2 separate regions of the Homo sapiens genome follow, and region 1 is linked to region 2. The links are contacts of gene promoters, found by promoter capture Hi-C in human tissues and cell types (Jung and others, 2019). All regions are on one chromosome and are shown on one strand. Each heading gives the region's core, a stretch centred on a gene start or on the middle of the fragment in contact. The rest is flanking DNA. Distances are from core to core; before and after follow the strand shown.

Region 1 (5,717 bases), core at 1,563-4,062, 76 kb after region 2:
TTTGTTTTTTTATTATGCTTAATAATTTTTGATTGAATGACAGACTTTGTGTTTTTGTAGATATAATTCATAGAGATAATTTAAGGCTTTGAATGATATAAGCTTCTTCTAGAGGGAATTTGCTTTTGACTTTGGGAAATCAGAATAGGGATAAATTGCCTTTATCCAGTCCAGGATTTAGCTGCTTTGTAACTGTACTTCAGTCTTTTGTGAGGAGTCGTCTATTTCTGGCTTATCCCAGGGTATAATATAACTCTCCTATGTTCCTAATGGGAAATCTCAGGTGTTTACCAGGGTTCCTACTCTTTAGTTAGCCCTAAACTCCAGGTTTTATTTTCTTTTTATTTATTGTCTTTTTTTTATTATCTTTATTTCAGATAGGACTTTCAAAAGTACTATCTGACTTCTCAGACTGTCAGCTGCTATTTTTTTGTTCAGATTCGTAGTCTCCTGGTCCTTTACTACTTCTGAATTATAAAAAATACATACTTTTTCAAAGCAGTACCATTTATTTTATTTTCTGAGACAGGGTCTTTGTTGCCCAGGCTGGAGTGCAGTGGCATGACCATGGTTCACTGCAGCCTCGACCTTCTGGGCTCAAGTGATCCTCCCACATCAGCCTCCCGAGTAGCTGGGACTACAGGCACACATGACCACGCCCAGCTAATTTTTGTGTTTTTTGTAGAAATGGGGTTTTGCCATGTTGCCCAGGCTGGTCTCAAACTCCTGGGTTCAAGTGATCCACCTGCCTCAGCCTCCCAAAGTGCTGGGATTTTGCGCTCAGCCAGCAGTACCATTTTTTAAAATCGCAATATACAATCTCAGGCTTACCTCAAGGCATTTCCTTGCTCTCTGATATCCGCTCTTCTTTTCGTTCCCCGGCTGCTTTGGTATATCTGAACTCTAAGTTATATCTCTTCAATCTCATAAGCCTGCTGAAATCTTAGGCCATGTTCCCAGTCTTTTAGCTAAAGCTTTTTTTTTTTTTTTTTAATTTTTAAGCAGAGTCTTGCTCTGTCGCCCAGGATGGAGTGCAATGGGGTGATCTCGGCTCACTGCAACCTCCGCCTCCTGGGTTCAAGCAATTCTCCTGCCTCAGCCTCCTGAGTAGCTGGGATTACAGGCATATGCCCGGCTAATTTTTGTATTTTTAGTAGAGATGGGGTTTCGCCATGTTGGCCAGGTTGGTCTCGAACTCCCGAGCTCAGGTGATCTGCCCACCTCGGCCTCCCTAAGTGCTGGGATTACAGGCATTAGCCACCAAGCCCGGCCTAAAGCTTTATTCTTGGATACTGAGGCTCTACACCCCCTGTCACTTAGGACTTGGCAGATACCTCAAAGGGGAAATCTGTTGTATTCATAGAATTTCAGACTCACTTTAATATATTTCTCTCTGTAGCCTGAACACCTGGGACCTGACTGCGTTAGTATCTCTCTAATGCTTTTAAACAGATTATTGGATTGTACGTTGTATTGCTTTTCTAGTTGCTTTAGATGGGAGGGTTGGTTTTCAACAACCCACCTCACCATTATCAGAAGCAGAAAGTCCTGGTTTTTACTTTTGAAGAATGTTTTCGCTGGGTATAGAATACTAAAATAGCCATTATTTTCTTTCAGAAATTTAATGAAGTCATTCCATCATCTTCTGGCCTTCATTGTTGCATAGAAAGCAAATGTCAGTCTTGTTCATTTCACGCCTATGTGTCTTTTTCCCTTTGTTTTTTAAAAAACATTTTTCTTTATCTTTGGTATTCAGAAACTTTACTAAGTTGTATATATGTGACATTTTCTTTTAATTTATCCTTTTGGGGGTTACAGCTCATTTTAAGTCTGTGGCTAGATGTATTTTATTAGATTTGGAACATTCTTGGCCTGTATCTGTTCAAATGTGCCCTCTCATCTCCTTTTGAGGCTGTAATTACACATATGATGGGCATTTTTAGCTTGTCCTATATGTCTATAACATTCTTTTGTGTATTTTCTATCCATCCTTCTATCTCTTTATGATTCAGTCTGAACACATTCTTTGTCTCTCTTCCAGGTTATTAGTCCTTTCTTTTATTCTGTCTAATCTGCCATTGTCTATTAATTTTTTTTTTACTTTTGGTTATTATATTTTAAATTGTCTTTTTTATATTTAGTATCCAGTTCTATTGTTAAACTTTACGTCTTGCTATCCATCTTCTTGAACACGTGAATCAGCTATTTTAAAGTTTGTGTCTGATAACTCCAATATCTAGATAACCAGGGTAGGAGGATCTATATCTATTTTCTGTTCTTATTAGTGGTTTTTTTGTCATGTGGTCCTGTCTCCTGATAGGCCAGATCTTGATTAGTCAATCTTATATATAATAAATTATAGAAATAATTTGAGGATCTTGATGATGCGATTCTTCTTCCAGAAAGCATTTATTTTTGTTCTTGTTGTTGTTTGTTTGTTTGTTTTTGAGAGAGGGTCTCACTCTGTCACCCAGGCTGGAGTGCAGTGGCATGATCTTGGCTCACCATAACCTCTGCCTCCTGGGTTCAAGCGATTCTCCTGCCTCGGCCTCCTGAATAGCTGGGATTACAGGTGTGTGCCATCGTGCCTGGCTAATTTTTGTATTTTTAGTAGAGACGGGGTTTCACCATGTTGCCAGGCTGGTCTTGAACTCCTGACCTCAAGTGATCTGCCTGCCTTGGCTTCCCAAAGTGCTGGGATTATAGGCGTGAGCCGCCTCAGCTGGCCAGAATTTACTTTTGACCCTGGCAGGCAGTGAACGTAGAAGGTCACTGTAATCCAATCCGTGACTGGGATGATTCGCACGTGAGCTTCGGTGTCTATGAAGGATGGTCTATTTCTGATTCACCGCTAGTACTAGGGTCAAGCCCTGCTGTGAATACAACTTGATGTCTTGTGATATTTATCAGAGCCTCTCTGTTTTGGTGGCTCTGAACCCTAACTTTTGTCCCCCTCAGGCCATGGTACTGCCAGAAGTTCTTCTTGGCATCTCAATTTTTCAGCCCAAACTCTTAAATGAGCAAATGCCTTGAGGAAGAGGAGACATTAAATGCTGGGCTCATTCCTCTGTACCTCCCTTCTCTCCAAGATCTTCACTCCTTCGGTCCCAGCTGTCTGTTCAGCTGTCTGAGGTGTCTTGCATATTCTTATGATATATTCTTTCTAGATTTTTATGATGTTCTTGGTGGAAGTGTTGGTCTGCAGCAATCTAGTTTTCTGTTACCTTCTATTGCCATTTCTATGCAGCATTTCCTGACCCCTGGACACTGGAGGACCAACAAATGGTACCATTTAGATTGACAGTTGGCTCCTACCTAGGAGTGCCCAGTTCAATACCATCTCCATCCACTCAGGGTACCTGAGTGGATGCCCCCTCTATTGTAAAAACATACATGTGTTTCTGAGATCCACCCACTTCTTCCACTTTCACCTCCATGCCATTCTGCATAAAATCACTTCTTCTGAAGTCCTTTCTTCCCCTCAAGAGGCCCATGCTCACCCACCCACTTACTCTCTTTCTCTGCCGACTGTCCCCTCCCCACCTCCCCTAGGTCACATGCCAGAAACAGGCCCTGGAGGAGCAGCTGGCTCAGAGCCTGCAGGACCAGGAGGCCCAGATGGGCACTCTGCAGCAAGCCCTGCAAGGAAAGGATGCTCTGTCTGAGGAGCGGGCCCAGCTGCTGGCCAAGCAGGAGGCCTTGGAGAGGCAGGGCCGGCTCGCAGCTGAAGAGGCAGCTGATCTCAGGTATGCAAGGGCCTGCCAGTCAGGGCATGTCCCACGTGTCCTTGCCCACAGAGAGTCTGCAGTGTGGCAGGGTATGGGGACAATCGCACCATGACATAGGACTGGGAGGGAGCGTGTGCCCATGAAATGGGCTGTGAGTGGAGGCGAGCACAGAGCCTTTGGGTTGGGGGAGGGCATCTGGAAGAGGTCAACCCAGTGAAAGCGCTGGGGTCACCCTCCTGAAAGAGGTGGTGGCAAGTGCAGAAACACAGCTCAGACCAGGGGAAGGCAGATGTGGAATGTCTTGCTCATGGAGCTGAGGAGTTCAGGGTGAATCCAACTTCAGGTATGGCTGGATTCAGGCACTCCCACAGTGCCCTCAGAATCCTGCTTCTCTCTCCCTCAGCACAGCTTGACTCTGAGATCTTTTTCCCAGGCAGGCTTACTCTGAGAGGTGGCAAGATGGCCAGCAGCCACCCCAGGGTCCCCCTTCCAGCAGATGCAGAGCACCCTTCTCCCTGCAAGGCCTGAGAGCGGCTGCCATGGGCCGTCTTGAGCTGTGTGACATCCCTGTACCAATCCTAGGAGCTGGGAGTCACAGGGCCTGATCCCAGGCTTGGGCTGCACACCCATCCCTGGAGCCAGAAGCAGGGTCAGCCCAGGGACACATGAGGTGGAGAGTGTGGGCGGGTGAGCCCAAAGGCCCTCAGGGCAACTCCCAGAAGTTGGGACGGGCACTCGCAGGCAAGAACAGGATGTGTGTAGGCTGTTGCCTGGTGATCTGAATGGGTCCTGCAGCCTCTGCAGAAACCCAACAGCTGATGGCTTCTGTGCCTTATAGGCCCTGCTTAGGGCCCTGCTCAGGCACTGCTAAGCATTTTTGTTGAAAAGATTTCCTCCTGGAATTCTAGAATCTGGGAGGCATGAGAAACCTTGGAGTCTGGGATCCTCGAGCTTCACAGACAAACCTCTTCTCCAAATGAAAGCTTGCACAGCAAGGAAAACCTGAGGGAGGCTGCTGCGGGTTGGGCTCCTGCCCATGCTCCCTCCTGGGCCCTGGGGGCTCCAAGGACCGGGGTGGAGGTCCCTTTCCTGCTGTCAGGGTCTACTGCCCAGAACACAGGCCCCAGCCAGAGCCCTCAGCAGCCTGGGTGCTGCCCTGACAGCTGCCCCTACCTCAGCCCTGCCACTGACCCGAGGTCCCTGCACATGGCAGCCCTGCAGGCCCCAGCATCACAGGCCACTGAACAGGGCATCCTGATGGCCCATTGAGCCTCTGGTGACAGAGGGGCTTGACCTGAAGCCACGTCTGCCCGGACACACTCTGTGTGTTTATCTGACTGGCCCAGTGGGGCCAGAGAGCGTGGAAGCTGCCATTGATGAGCTCGCAGGTAACATTCAGGACCATTAAGTGTGGGAAACCGTGCTGCAGCTCCTTGCTTCTGATGAGGCCTCCCCACGGGTCTGCTTTATGAAGGGCTCCACTCTCGGATCCTCAGGCCCTGACAAGGCTTCAGCAGTGGGGACCTGCTCCCTCCCTTCATGGAGTCCTGGCCCACTTGTCAGCCAGCAAGATGGACCAAGGTCCCCGCCAGCCCACACCCCAAGCAGCCCTGCCTTGCTCAGAGCACCCCGTGGTGGGCCAGGCCTCCAGTCCAGGGTCTCAATGGCAGAGCCCCTGGAGTTTCTCCTGGGCCCCCAAGGAGAGAGAGGCTGGGCACACGCTCAGGTCCCCAAGCTTCAGGCAAAGACATCTGATGTCTGAGCAGCAGAGGCCACATCCCTTACAGGAGACCAGGCGGGCCTCTAGGAGGAGGGGTTTCCAGGCTGACTTGAAGGAAAGGTTTCCTACACGCAGAAGGGGGAAGAGCTGCCAGGTGAAGAGAGCACTCAAGCCTGGGAGTGTTGGGATGGGGGCCATGAGGAACACTTACGGGAGGAGGGACCGGAGAGGGAGCAGAGTAGCATGCAGCAGAGTGAGGTCTCTGGGGG
Region 2 (5,973 bases), core at 3,463-5,962:
AGGCCCTCCAAATAAAATATCACTTACATGCTGCTTACCACCCACAGTCATCCAAGGGCCAAGCTAGCTTTGAAAACCCTTCTCACTAAGCTCTCTATAGAAACTCAACTGTTTTGGATAACTTTTCTTCCTATTGCCCTGTTAAGATCTAGAGTAATTCCCAAAGGTTTCAACCCACCTTAGCCCTTTTGAAATTATTTATGGATGCCCCTTTTTACAAACGGACTTATTACTTGATCCAGAGGCTCATTATCTGTCTCAATGTGATGCCTCCCTGGGCAAACTATCCAGGCCACTACTGAATACCAGGATAAATTTTGTCCAAAATCTGACCCCTCCTCATCAGAACTAAGACCTCCTGTTAACCTGGGGACTGGGTATATTTAAAAACTTTGCCTCCAGACAGAAAACCCCTTCCAGCCCTCTGGACTGGACCCTTTCAAGTCCTCATAGCCTCTCCCACAGCTGTTAACTGCAGGGATTCTCCCCTTGGGTCCACCTTTGCCACATAAAGTCTGTACTGCCGCCAGAACTCCAGCCTGCTTACACTTTGAGCCCTTGGAAGATCTATGATTTTTGTTTTGCAAACAACCAGGTGACACTAACCTCTCTTCAAAAGCAAAGGATACCACGTAAGCCTTTTGCTGTGTTTATCATTCACTTTCCTTTCCCTCCCTTGTCATTCATTTCCTTATGTACTCTAGAAGCGTTTTTAGGTCCTCCAATTTTCTGAGATTATCCTCAATTCACTTACTTTTTTTTTTTTTTTTTTTTTGAGACAGAGTTTTGCTCTTGTCACCCAGGCTATAGTGCAATGGTGCGATCTCGGCTCACTGCAACCGCCATCTCCCGGGTTCAAGTGATTCTCCCGCCTCAACCTCCTGAGTAGCTGGGATTACAGGCATGCACCACCATGCCCGGCTATTTTTTTTTTTTTTTTTTTTTTTTTGTATTTTTAGTAGAGACAGGGTTTCACCATGTTGGCCAGGCTGTTCTCACACTTCTGACCTCAGGTGATCCGCCCGTCTCAGCCTCCCAAAGTGCTGGAATTACAGGCATGAGCCACCACACCCAGCCAATTTACTGTCTCTTTATCCAATCCCCATTTCTCAAGACCCACATACAATTATTCAGCTTGCACTAGATTTTTATTTGCAGGGTGGTTTTTCTAATTATACTTGGAGCAACTTTTGTAACAGTCCTTGAATTAGAACAATGAGACTCCTTTTTTCTTTCTTTCATGTTTTTCTCTTTATCTCTCATATAAAAACTTCCCAATCCTCTTGGTTTGACAATATCATCTTCAGCATCTCACATGCTATTGTGAGAGGAGAAAATACTCTGTGTGGCTGGCTTTGCCGTCCACAACCTGCTACTCCAAGCCATGTAGATTCTTCTTCGTAAGCACACCCTGTCTCCAATCAAACTGTACTGTTGGGATTTCATTATTCTTCTCACCACTCCTTCCCACCCCGACCATTTCCTTCTGTGCTGGTAAATTGGAAACCACCTCCCTCTTCGTGCTATCATATTACTTCCCCCACCATCCACACTTACAATATCACTGAAACTTCCTTAACTTGTAATGTTATTTTGGGAGGTACACCTTGTTATAATGACACTCATGCAGCTAACTTTGACTCATTTGAGGCCTTCGCCTCCTACAATCAAAACTCTGACTCTGGCCAGGTGCGCTGGCTCACACCTGTAATCCTAACACTTTGGGAGGTAGAGGTGGGTGGATCACCTGAGGTCAGGAGTTCGAGACCAGTCTGACCAACATGGTGAAACCCTGTCTCTACTAAAAATACAAAAATTAGCAGGGCGTGGTGGCAGGTGCCTGTAATCCCAGCTACTCAGGAGGCTGAGGCAGGAGAATCGCTTGAACCCAGGAGCAGAGGTTGCAGTGAGCCAAGGTCACACCACTTCACTCCAGCCTGGGCAACTGAGTGAGACTCCATCTCAAAAAAAAAAAAAAAAAAAATCTGACTCTATCTCATCACTGCCAATTTATAAGCCGTTAAACTGGACCAGTATAGTGGGGCTCCCAGTATACAGCACCCCTGCACTCCTAATACCTTCATGTATGTTACTATAATGATGCAACCAGTGCAGGAAATAACCACCGTGCCACCTGGTTTACATCCTATGCCATGCACTGGCACCCGCCTGCTTTTAAACCTCCTCCATCAGTACATAAACATAGTCTTTCCCCCATATGAGTCCTCTTAAAACTGTCAAAAGGCCCATTTCCTTTTTTCCCAACATTTTAATTAAAATAATCATCCTGCCCCTCCTGGGCTCTTATGGCTTAGCAGCCCCACTAAAAACTATTTAAACCCTTTTCAAGCTTTGGCCCTATCCCACCTTGATCATTCTCTTCACTATGGTGATTGTAGCCTGGGAACAATAGCTCCCACCCAAATCACTGTCTTAAACATCACTTCTAATTCAGAATTCCCTTCTAGAAGGAAAAGGGCCCTGGGACTTACTGTGGCCGGAGTTGTGGGAACTATCACAACTCTTACCCCTTGGGGAGGTTTTACTTACCAGGAAATCACAAGTAAGAGAACCTACCGCCTCCCTTGAAATAGCAAAAGCTGGCACCCATCTATCAGCTCTACAAGTCATTAGACTCACAAGCAGGATTTTGGTGTCTGGTAACAGGTGAGTTCTGGATTACCTCCTAGCTGAACAAGGAGGGGTCTGTGCTGTCATCAACAGGACCCGTTGCACCTACATTTATGTGTCTGGAGAAGTGGAAACCGATGCCCAAGAAATCATCAAACAAGCCAAATGGCTACACACACTTTCCCAAAGCAACCAAGACTGGGCCAAAACTTTTACTGATTGGTTTTCAAAAAATCACTTGGCTTCCCCCATTCCTTAGACCTTTATCTTCTGTCATTTTTCTTTTAATATTTGGTCCCTGCCTTTTTAATGCTCTGATTGCTTTTCTATGTTCTACATGAGAACAATTCCACCTGCAGAAGGCTATGCATTCCCAACACTGGCCTGCAACTGCAGCTCGATTTACATGGGGCTTCTTGATGGAAATACCGGCCTGCAACTGCAGCTCCCATTTACGTGGGGCTTCTTGATGGAATCCCATCACGTGCCTCCGTGCACAAGTTTTCATGACCCTTTATTCCCTTCATGACCGAGAGCAAGAAAGGGAAAAACGTGACCTACCCCCCTGAACTCCCTTTCAGCAGCAAGTAGTCAGGCGCACTGGACACCCCTCTTCACTGTGCCGTTTCCCCTTTCTTGAGACCCCAACAGGAAGCAGGTGGACATGAGCATGGCAGAAAAGGAAGGGTCAAAGATTTCACCAAGATATTTGTCAGAGGGAAAATGAGGACAGCAAAGATCACCTGGAGACCATCAAGCAGGCCCCAGGTGGGGTGGGTGGAGGGGAGCCTCTTTATTTGAGAAATGTAGAATGAATTAGACTTCCCTATTATCTAAAGTTGGCACCTGGTTCCAGGCCTCTTTTCAACCTAAAACTTATACATAACTAGAATTTCTATACATCTCTGGAATGCAGCATGCTGAAACTCACTGTGCAACCCCTGCCTTGTGTGTGTCTGTATACCATGCAGGTTTGCTTGCTAAATTGAGCCTGTAAACCAAAAAGTACCTCAAACAGGTCTCAATTAATTTAGAAAGTTTTTGTTGCCAAGGCTAAGGATGCACCCGTGGTACAGCCTCAGGAGGGAGGACATCCTTGCCAAGCTCAAGGGTGCACCCCTGACCACAAGGGCCCAAGGTGGTCGGGGCACAGCTTGCTTTTATACATTTTAGGGAGATATGAGGCATCAATCAATACATGGGAGATTTACATTGGTTCCATCTGGAAGGGCGGGACAACTTGAATTGGGGGGCTTCCAGGTCATAGGTAGATTTAAACATATTTTGATTGGCAACTGACTGAAGAATTATTATCAGCAGAAAGGAGTGTCTGGGTTATGAAATAGGGGTTGCAGGGAGCAGATGATGCCTTCAGGTAGCGGGATTTAGAGAGAAAATAGATGGTAAATGCTTCCTATCAGACTTAAGGTCTATGTCGATGTTAATGCTGGGGGTTATGATGTGGCATGGCCTGAACGTCTTCCGGGTTAAAGTTTAGAGCACCCTGGCGGACAGGGAACCCCATTCAGATGGTTGCTGGGGGGCCTTCGAATTTTATTTTTGGTTTACAAGCCTTCCCATCAGCTGCGCCAGGGTCAGCAAACCACAGTCCATGGGCCCAATCTGGCCTGCCACCTGCTTTTTGTAAATAAAGTTTTATAGGAACACGCCCACACCTCTGGCAGCTGCTTTGCAAGCACGCAGCAGGGTTGAGTTGTTGCAACATAGACCACAGGGCCTGCCAAGCCTCAATTATCTGTGCTCCGACCCTTTAAGAAACACTTCTCTCACCCCTGAGCTAAGCAGAATAAGAGGGGCTGGACGTGCAGGACTCAGAGTGGGAGCGAGGAGGGCTGGGGTGAGGACAGCTTTGTCACACTCTGTTTTTCTGTCACTCAGCCCTGGGGGCTCCCTCTGCCTGAGGGCTTCGTCCCCTGCTGCCTGGCCGTGACCCGCAGCACAAGCACAGATAAGCCTCAGGGAACAAAAGGCAGGGCTGCCACGGAAGCCCATCCACCAATCCTCACCTCTCACCTCTGTGTCCGCCCTGCTGGGAAATATTCCAGGCTTTGGCCAAGGCCAGTGCAGCCCCAGGTTCCCGAGCGGCAGGTTGGGTGCGGACCATGGCCTCTCACAAGCTGCTGGTGACCCCCCCCAAGGCCCTGCTCAAGCCCCTCTCCATCCCCAACCAGCTCCTGCTGGGGCCTGGTCCTTCCAACCTGCCTCCTCGCATCATGGCAGCCGGGGGGCTGCAGATGATCGGGTCCATGAGCAAGGATATGTACCAGGTAGGAGTGGGGGTCACTCGGGGGGCCTGGGTCTCACCCATGTTCCCACCCACAGATCGTGGACGAGGGAAGGGGGTCACTGCCTCCTCACTTGGGGAGGCGGGGAGCCTGGGTCTCACCCTATACCACCCGCATGCAGATCATGGACGAGATCAAGGAAGGCATCCAGTACGTGTTCCAGACCAGGAACCCACTCACACTGGTCATCTCTGGCTCGGGACACTGTGCCCTGGAGGCCGCCCTGGTCAATGTGCTGGAGCCTGGGGACTCCTTCCTGGTTGGGGCCAATGGCATTTGGGGGCAGCGAGCCGTGGACATCGGGGAGCGCATAGGTAAGGGAGAGGCCCAGGTGGGGATGGCCCTGGATCCATCCTTCAAGGCCTCCCTGGCCTCCCTCTGTTTGAAGCTGGCAGCCCCCGTTCCTGGGTGAGCGCTTACCCACCTTGTGGCCCTGTGCGCACGAACCTCCTGCCAGCCCACTGCCTCCTCCAGGCGGTGTCGGGCACTCATGAGGCCTGACTCTGATAGGGCTGGGAGCAGCACAGGTGCCCCGATCCCCCCAGTCTCCTTGAGCTGTTTCTGGAGCATGTGCAGGACGGAACTACAGGGAAGCCTCTGGTCCCAGCACACACTCCTGAGAGCCCCGGCCGCTGTCCAGGGCCCCAGGCACCAGCTCTGCTTTGTGACAGGGTGGGGTTTCAGAAGCTGAAGCCTCCCCTCAAATCTCAGCAGCCTTCCTTCTGGAATCTTGATGTGATACACAAAATATGGAGGTATGGGCAGAGTATTCGCCTCCGGAGTACACTTTTCTGGGAGAGACACAGGAGCAGGAGTGTGCCCTGGGTTTAATGATTGATTGTGGCATTGAGGGACATCAGCTTGGTGAGCTCCACAATGGCCATGCTGGTTAATACGCGACCGCAACAGCCAAGAGGGTCCCAACCCCAAGTCCACAAACTTTTCAAGGGGACCCAGGGTCGGCAGAGGCCAGGACCCCAAGTGGACATCAGGGCACGCAGGCTCAGATGCCTGTGGTATATGGCTTCCCTTTTCC

Evidence for each region. The method cuts DNA at HindIII sites, captures the fragments that hold promoters and counts their contacts. A contact is called where the count stands out against the background at its distance.
Region 1: a fragment that was not itself captured here is called in contact with the fragment with the promoter of AGXT in region 2 in 4 of the 25 tissues and cell types used here (IMR-90 fibroblasts, adrenal gland, aorta and 1 more).

The regions. Positions count from the first base shown.
Region 1 is chr2:240,942,508-240,948,224 of GRCh38, forward strand. CROCC2 (ciliary rootlet coiled-coil, rootletin family member 2) reads left to right here. Exons shown (of 32, transcript NM_001351305.2): 15 at 3,553-3,746. Among named protein-coding and RNA genes, the nearest start is that of UICLM, 22 kb to the right of the region's middle. The HindIII fragment of the contact is 4,549 bases long and covers 539-5,087 here.
Region 2 is chr2:240,864,112-240,870,084 of GRCh38, forward strand. AGXT (alanine--glyoxylate aminotransferase) reads left to right here and starts at 4,713. Exons shown (of 11, transcript NM_000030.3): 1 at 4,713-4,919; 2 at 5,059-5,251. The coding sequence starts at 4,755. RefSeq lists an enhancer at 4,232-4,732. The HindIII fragment of the contact is 24,692 bases long and covers 1-5,973 here.